Linked DNA regions of Homo sapiens: regions 1 and 2 are each linked to region 3. Evidence: promoter capture Hi-C in 16 types of primary human blood cells and fetal thymus (Javierre and others, 2016). All regions are on one chromosome and are shown on one strand. The core of a region is centred on a gene start or on the middle of the fragment in contact, and the rest is flanking DNA. Distances in the headings are between cores, read along the strand shown. Region 1 overlaps PLSCR4 (phospholipid scramblase 4). Region 2 has its middle 10 kb from the start of PLSCR4. Region 3 holds the start of PLSCR1 (phospholipid scramblase 1).

What was found. Contacts are between HindIII fragments. The CHiCAGO score rates a contact against its expected background, and 5 or more counts as called.
Region 1: a fragment that was not itself captured here is called in contact with the fragment with the promoter of PLSCR1 in region 3 in 6 of 17 cell types (naive B cells, total CD4 T cells, erythroblasts and 3 more); the score reaches 9.0 in naive B cells.
Region 2: a fragment that was not itself captured here is called in contact with the fragment with the promoter of PLSCR1 in region 3 in 1 of 17 cell types (fetal thymus); the score reaches 5.6 in fetal thymus.

What each region holds. Positions count from the first base shown.
Region 1 is chr3:146,242,246-146,244,998 of GRCh38, reverse strand. All of the region lies in intron 1 of PLSCR4 (phospholipid scramblase 4), which reads left to right. Among named protein-coding and RNA genes, the nearest start is that of PLSCR4, 7.5 kb to the left of the region's middle. The HindIII fragment of the contact is 2,371 bases long and covers 178-2,548 here.
Region 2 is chr3:146,259,645-146,262,490 of GRCh38, reverse strand. No RefSeq gene overlaps it. Among named protein-coding and RNA genes, the nearest start is that of PLSCR4, 10 kb to the right of the region's middle. The HindIII fragment of the contact is 516 bases long and covers 1,159-1,674 here.
Region 3 is chr3:146,543,198-146,545,897 of GRCh38, reverse strand. It overlaps PLSCR1 (phospholipid scramblase 1), which reads left to right and starts at 1,291. Exons shown (of 9, transcript NM_021105.3): 1 at 1,291-1,431. RefSeq lists an enhancer at 962-1,441. The HindIII fragment of the contact is 8,607 bases long and covers 1-2,700 here.

The sequences.
Region 1 (2,753 bases), core at 114-2,613, 300 kb after region 3:
CTCCTGTTAATATTTATATTTTGACTTCCTCCCATGAATAACAAAAGTTCTTAGTGGTATCTAAAATGGTGAATCCTTTTTAGAAAGTTTTCAATTTACGTTGCCTAGATTCATCAGAGGAATCTAGGCCTAGCTTTTGGCCTGTCTTTGCTTTCAGCATGCCTTCCTCATTAAGCTTAATCTTTTCCAGCTTTTTGACTTAAAGTGAGAGATGCACGAACCTTCTTTTCACTTGAATATTTAGAGGCATTTGTAGGCTTATTAATTGGCCTAATTTCAATATTGTTTTGTCTCAGGGAATAGGGAGGTCCTAGAATAAGGGGAGAGATGGGAGAATAGTTGCTCTGTGGAGCAGTCACAACAACACTTACTAAGTTCACCATCTTATATAGGCATGGTTCATGGGGTCCCAAAACAATTATAATAGTAACATCAAAGATCACTGATCATAGATCACCATAACAGATTGTTATGAAAAAGTCTGAAATATTGTGAGAATTACCAAAATTTGACAAAGAGACAAACTGAGAAGTTGCTGTTCTGCAAAATGGCACTGATAGACTCCTTGATACAAGGATGCCACAAACCCTCAATTTGTTTAAAAAAATGGAGTATCTGTGAATCACAGTATAGCAAAGCACAGTAAAACAAGGCATGCATGTACATAATGAGGTATCTTGAGAATGGGACCCAAGTAAACATGAAATTCATGTTCCATTATGTTTTAAACATATAGCCTGAAGATAATTTTATACAATATTTTTGATAATGTTGTGTATGAAACGTTTACGTACGTTGAACCATCAGAAAGCAAAGGTATCAGTATCTCAATCACCCATGTGGACAATCTGTGGTTATTTGACGTCACCATCATTCCTGACTCTAAATTCATTATGCTACTGATAAGTAATCATTTTCTTACATTACTCACAAATAAGTGCTTAACAGTAAAAAATAGGATGTATCATTAGTACAGTGAAAAGAGAATGCGTTCAGGGTAACTAAGCAGCACAGTAGTATCTCCAGAATGCCTGTGTCGGAAAGCCACCAATAAGCAATGGCAGGCTTTCATTCTTTACCTACAATGCTGTATTTTGATTACAAGGTTATCATTCACTGAATTTTATTATTTTAAGTGAGAAGAAATATCAGAAGTAGCCAAGTGACCAGCAAGTGTTTTCTCTACAAATGAGGAAGCATTCTGATGGATGACTTTTCAGAATGTTTCCTCTGGAGTCCGCTGTCTCATTAACAATGGTTTTTGTCTTAGAAGTCTCTGTTGATTTTACAGACTGACACAATTTCTTATTCTGTGATGAATGAATGCTCTTAGAGTCCTTCAGTAAACCCATCACATATTTTCACCATGTCATCTATAGGCACTTTGCAGTTTTAACAGTGTCCTCATCATCTTTCACTTGTGACATCATGTTGGTGCTGAAAGTTTTGGATTTTTGAGCATTTCAGATTTTGGACTTTTGGATTAGGGTTGCTTAGTCTATACAGCATTTTATGTGCCCGAACTCTGCATGAATATTATAATCTTTTCTTAAAGTTAGAGATTGGTTCATCCTTTTTGTTCATTTCTTTGTTTTCAAGAATAAATGACAACACAGTTTTTGTTTTGCTTTCTATTTTTTTGTTTTTCAAGAGTTTTGGAGCATAGTCAGGATCATGATGATAAGAAAGAGATGTATATATGTAACAAACCTGCATGTTGTGCACATGTACCCTAAAACTTAAAGTATAATAAAAAAAAAGATGTATACAGTTGGTAGAGCATATTGTTAGCAGGAGTTTGAGAAGAGGGGTTTCAGTCAATTGAGAGATCCCCATGGAAGAAGCAGGATGAAATACAGATAACAGAACTAATTCTTACAAATTTTTTTTCTGAAAATGGTCCAAGTGTCAATTAGGAACTTTCCAGGTTTGATTTGAAACCCCCACCACAGAATTTGTTTTTCCTCCCTGAGAGATTGATGGGTTACTGTTTTGGGATTAAAGCCTTTGGGGGCTTTCTCTGGTGGAGAAATAGTTCAGACAAAAGGTAGTGGATCCATTAGATGGCTAATATAAAAGTGGACAATGTATTTTCCAGTTGCATGAGTGTTTACCATAAAGGCAGACATCTTGGGGCATAGGGTTCTTTATTTTGGGATCCTCTTGGGCCCTGTAGCCTTTACAACTGTAAAGACATAAACCTGTTTGCCTTTCGTAAGGAATTTTCCCACTGTAGCCATTCTAAGTTACTTTTGCTAAGGTTCTCCCATTCGTCTCGAAAAGCACAGGTTCTGGGTCTCTGGTTTTTATACATGAAGTTGGCTAGAATTCCAGAGGGCGAAGCTCTAGCAACCTTTGACCAGATAAACCCATGATTCTATGTCTTTTATTAACCTTTCCTACCTACTAACTGAGTTGAGTTTATGTCTGACCCAGTCAAATACCTGAGGCCTCCCTACTGGGCCCAGTCCTGTTGTTGGCATGACTTTGAAACCCAGTGTAGATCAAAAATGCTCAAACTCAGCTCAAATCAGAAGTTCATGAAGCTTAGATTCAAAAATCTCACCCATGACCCCAGTTGCTGCGAAAGAGCAGTGAGTACACTGGGCATGCTGGGTACCTTAACTTGGTCACTCAGTGCTCCTGGGATCACTGGAAGTTTGCTTCAAGATCTGACTTCTCATGTGAAACTCTTAAAAGAAAAACTTTAGGCAAATTCAGCAGAGTTTATCTGAGCGAAAAACGATTCATGA
Region 2 (2,846 bases), core at 167-2,666, 280 kb after region 3:
CCTCACAGTGTCATGAACCAACATAATACAATGGTGAATTTATATAGATACAGATACAGATATATGTATATAGATAGATAGATATAGTATCTAGCATATCACTAGAACATGGAAAACAGGGAAGTGCTACATGGTGAAGCAAAAAAAAAAAATTAAGCAAATGCAAGAAAATTAGGGCTGTATGTTCTACAATACATATTAAGAGTTTTCTTGAAAACTGTAGGCTTTAAAATGAAAAATCTTCCCTGAAAAATGAAAGACTTTAACCTGGAAGTGACATTATCAGCTTTGTATTTCAGAAGTCTTGAGCAATTTTGTAGAAAAAATAGACTCTTTTCATTACATGTTTAAGACTTTAGTAAATTTTTTAACATTCATTATTTTAAATCACTGACACATACTTGAATAACTCACATTCCTAAATATATACATAAAATGTCAGTAGATCTGATTCAGCCAAAATTCTTTAAATCAGCAAATAATTCACTTTGCATATAGACACTATACAAAAAGAATTTGTTATTTATCGACATTTAAGGACAATGGCAAACTTGTGTGTCTTTAATCACAACTTAAACATTCACACTATTGAATTAAATGCCCTGATGTTATAATAATTATGCAGATTGTGACATACGAGGCTGCCGTGTACAAAATTTGAATTTAAAATACTCTTTTCATCGATATATAGTTAAATTACTTGCCTGACTTCAAGAAATATTTCCTTTTTCTCATTTTTGCTTTTGGGAATGCCAGCCTCAAAAATTTTCTAGTTCCTCAAATTTTTGTTGAACTGCATTAACCATTTTAGGATTTTGTAAAAATATATAAATACGTAATGATCACATGGCCTAGCCATTAGTAAAGTATAAATACTCTAAATTTAAAATAGTTTTAGACATTTCACAGATATATTTGTATTAATCTGTCTGAAGTATACCTAAGATAAAATATTGTTAAATTAAAAAGTAAGATTTAAATATATCTCTATGAATAGACAGAAAAGTTGGTTAATATGCTTTGTGAAAGGAAAAAAGAGATACCCTATAATTAAATTTCAAGGAACAGAGCACGCTTTTGAAAAAGATTGTTTTACTGTCTCTTTCTACATTGAATTGAATATCATAACATTTTAAACAAAGTTTATGACAGTAAGCTTTAGATTCAATACAGACTTTGGTTCAGATCTCAGCTCCATCACTTGTTGGGTCAAGTTACTTATCCTCTCAAGCCACAGTTTTCTCATTTTTTTCCTCTTTCCACTACTGCCACACCCCAGATAACCCATATTTATAAAAGTAGTTTGTTCTTCCATTTTTCCCCATGCTTATGTAATCACATGTAAGCATATCTAGTGTATGCATACATATAAGCATGGCGTATATATCTATATGTAAGTATATATAAAGTTTTTTCCAACAAAATTTAACCATTGTGTTTTTAGAGCAATTTTACTTCAGAAAGATTTAAGATCCTTTTCCATTTGTAAGCAATCATTTCTAAATATGCTTCTCGATGTATTTAAATGATAATTGATAGAAGTTCCGTATGTTCCCCCAAATACTTCAGTTGCTCTTTTACATTCTTTATTCTTGTGTTCTTGGAGATGCAACTCACTTTCTACTCCATGTATCAAGGTCAATTTGACCCAGATAGCATAAATGAGTTCAAGCTTTTAAAATCATATCAACTATAGCCATGGGGACAAAAATCATGAAAATATTGTATTGAAATCACTCTCAATTTTCTTTTCAACATCACAGAATGTGTGAAGATTCAGAAAACTAGTAAAAAGCGAATTGTGTCCCAATTTTCAAGAAAAGAAAATATTGACTTGTAGAAATTACACACAGAAACACTCACACATTTTGTAATAGTTTCCTAGTATTGCCTTAAAAAATTACCACACACGAGATCATTTAAAACAACGGAATTTTATTTTCTCTCAGTTGTGAAGGCCAGAAAACTGAAAATATATATATATATGTTGGTAGGGTTATTTCCTTCTTGCAGACTCAGAAAGAATTTGTTTCATGCCTCTCTCTTAGACTCTAGTGGTTGCTGGCAATCCTTGGTGCTCCTTATCTAGACGCATCACTCTAATCTCTGTCTTTATTGTCACATGGGTTCTCTCTGTGTGTCTGTCTCTGTATCCAAATTTCTCTCTTCTTATAAGGCCACAGTTATTGGATTAGGGTGCACCCTAATACGGTATTGGTTTTCTTTTATTTTGATTACATCTATACAGACAATTTCTAAATAAAATCATATCAAAATATCTTTTTGGGGGACACAACTCAACTAACAACGCATTGTAATGTCAGTTTCAGGCAAATTTATAGTACAGAAGTTGTAAATAATAGCATTTGAGCATTTAACAAAGGCAGTATTGTGTTCTCAATCAAATCTTATAAAATGGACTCATTTCCCCTTCCCTCCTGACTGGTGGAGTAGAGAGATCATGAGCATGTCATAATAAACACTGTTTTTAACACATTAAGCAGAGATTTTAATATTCATTGCTGTGAGCAAGACATTTTAAAATGTGGATTATGTAAAAGGAAAGTCTAAATGGATTTTTAGCTGGTTGAACAATTACAGAAGGTATTGATTACTGAATTTCTGTCATCCTAGAGGTTAATCTCAGAAATGACCTATTAGATTCTTTATCTAACCCAACATTTGTTTCAGTGACATAAATTTAGACATAAAGAAAAAGATTATCAAATTCCATGTGACAAAATCTAAGAAAATGGCTAACATGATAGGTAAACATAATACAGATTCAATTATTAACCTTAATATGCTACATCTGATTTTAGTCACAAGGCTGAGAAGCCAAATGG
Region 3 (2,700 bases), core at 42-2,541:
TAAAAGTATGTTTGAGACAGCTTCAAATCCCATGTTCTGGATTAAACTCAAGGTGGGATATCCTGAGATTGCCACAAAAGCACTGAAGAGTCTGCTTCCATTTCCAACATGCTATCTTTGTGAAGCAGGATTTTCTGCAGTGACAGCAACCAAAACAAGATTACGGAGTAGACTGGACATAAGCAACACACTTCTGGTGTCACTGTCTCCCACCGTTCCCAGATGGGACCTTCTAATTGCAGGAAAACAAGGTCAGGGCTCCCACTGATTCCACATTATGGTGAGTTGTATAATTATTTTATTATATATTACAATGTAATAATAATAGAAGTAAAGTGCGCAATACACGTAATGTGCTTGAATCATCCTGAAACCGTCTGCCACCCGGCCCTGGTCCATGGAAAAATCCTCTTCCGTGAAACTGGTCCCTGGTGCCAAAAAGGTTGGGGACCACTGGTTTATCCAGGGTCATCCAGGTTGGAGTGGGGTCAGGAGAAATGGGGAAATTTAGGTAAAAGTATACAAAGTTACAAACACGTAGGATGAACAAATGGGAAGACCTAATGTACAACATGAGGGCTATAGTTAATGATAGTGGTATTCAGGATTTATGCTAAATAAGTAGATTATAGCTGCTCTTGCCCCAAGGGGGGAAATGTGTAATTATAGGAGTTGATGGATATGTCATACAAATAACTTAAATACACAGAATAAAAACTATTTTAGTTTAAAAAGGAACAATATTTATAAAAAAATAAAGTGAGCTCGAAAACATTCAAATAACTGCTTAAAAATTAAAAAGTAATATCACATAATTTAATAGAAGGAAAGAAAGAGCAAGACAGCAAGAAAGAAAAGGCACCATAAAGAAAAACAATTTTGGCCCCTCCTCATTTGTAGTCTTAAGCTGCCTCTACTCCCTCGCCTTGAAAAGCCACGGGCTTCCGAGGGATGGAGGTCAAAGCCAGAGTAAAGAAAGTTCCCGGGGGAGGCCACTCCCCAGCTGATGACTTTCCAGTTCCAGTTAGTGTCGGAGTCCCAGTTCCTCTCCTTAACCACCGGACAAACGTCTCTGGAGTCTCTCCAATGAGCAAGAAAGCAAGTCGGGGGTAGGGGAGGGGCCTCACACCAGGGGGTGGGCGCAGTCCCTCCTCCAGCTCCTTCACCCTCCAGTAGTCTCGTGGGTCCCCGAGCGCCAGCGCGGGAACCGGGAAAAGGAAACCGTGTTGTGTACGTAAGATTCAGGAAACGAAACCAGGAGCCGCGGGTGTTGGCGCAAAGGTTACTCCCAGACCCTTTTCCGGCTGACTTCTGAGAAGGTTGCGCAGCAGCTGTGCCCGGCAGTCTAGAGGCGCAGAAGAGGAAGCCATCGCCTGGCCCCGGCTCTCTGGACCTTGTCTCGCTCGGGAGCGGAAACAGCGGCAGCCAGAGGTGCGCGGGCGGCTTTCTCTGCCGCCTCCTGGGGACTTGGGCGCGGGAACTGCGCGGAGCCTGCGCTGGGGCCAGGGCCGGGGTCAGGTGTGGAGGGCAACTTGTGGGGAACCGGCGCGAGGGCCCGCAGGTTGTGTTTGCTGCTCTGGGGGTGGAGGATGTGGGGTGAAGGTTGGGGCCAGAAATGCAAGAGGCCTCTGAAAGGGACCCTGGAAGTGGAGCAGGTACACGGCAAGGGGCCCCAGGCGGCCCAGCGGCACCCGGGCTCACCCCAGAACCATTCGAATGACAAGGGGTGCCCTGCCTGAAAACGCCTTGCGGGGCTCAGCTTCCCCTTAGCTACACTGCTTTACAGGTAGAGAGCGGCCCTGAATCCTGGGTAGAGTCTGGGCTCAGGAGCATGTGCCAGCGTAGTGGGGCTATTAGAAGGAATGGTTAATACAGCCTGCAAGCTGTCATTTATCAGTAAGTATTCAATGAAGTCCGCCGGAGCCCACATCTATGCTAGGCCCTCTACAATACCAGCTTAGGAAAGATAGTGGCGGTATCTAGCACGGTTCCTAAGACCATTAGCTCCAGTCAGGCTCCCCGACTTTAAATTCGGCCTCTACTGCTTCACGTCTGTGGACTGTCAGCCACTTTCTTCTTATATATGTTCTTTCCATTGCCTCATCTCTGAAATTGTGTAACTATTAAATGAGCTACAGAGTATTAATGTAAAATTCTTAGAGCAGTGCCTGGCGCTACAGAAAGTACTCAGTGAAAGTTAGCTCTTATTATTTTAAATATTTGACAAAGTTCCTGCTTCTCCAAGCTGATTCTCTGGTTCCCAGGTGGTTTCATTCATGCACTGTTATTCCTGGAAGTCTTGGCATGGCCACTTCCCAGTTCCAGGAACAGGCAGTCGTTGTTTTTTCTGGCTTATCACATTGAGATACATGGTTACTACAAGTGACACTTAAACGTGTCAGACAGTTTGGGGGCTCCCTTCTTGAACTTTTTCTAAGAGCAAACCTTTGTCTTAATGCCACCCTGTTTACAACAATAGTAGGGCTTTGAACAATGAGAAAATGCGGGGAAATGAAAAAGACATATAAAGGGAAAGAGTGGATTTATGCAATTGGATAGAAAAGTGGCATGTAAAATAGCTGGTTTATAGATCAAACTGCCTTTAGATCTGTAAAGGAGCTTAGAGTACATACAGGTGGAGAGACATCAGATGTGTGTGAGCAGACCCTTATGTACTTCTCCATCTTCATCTCTAAGAAT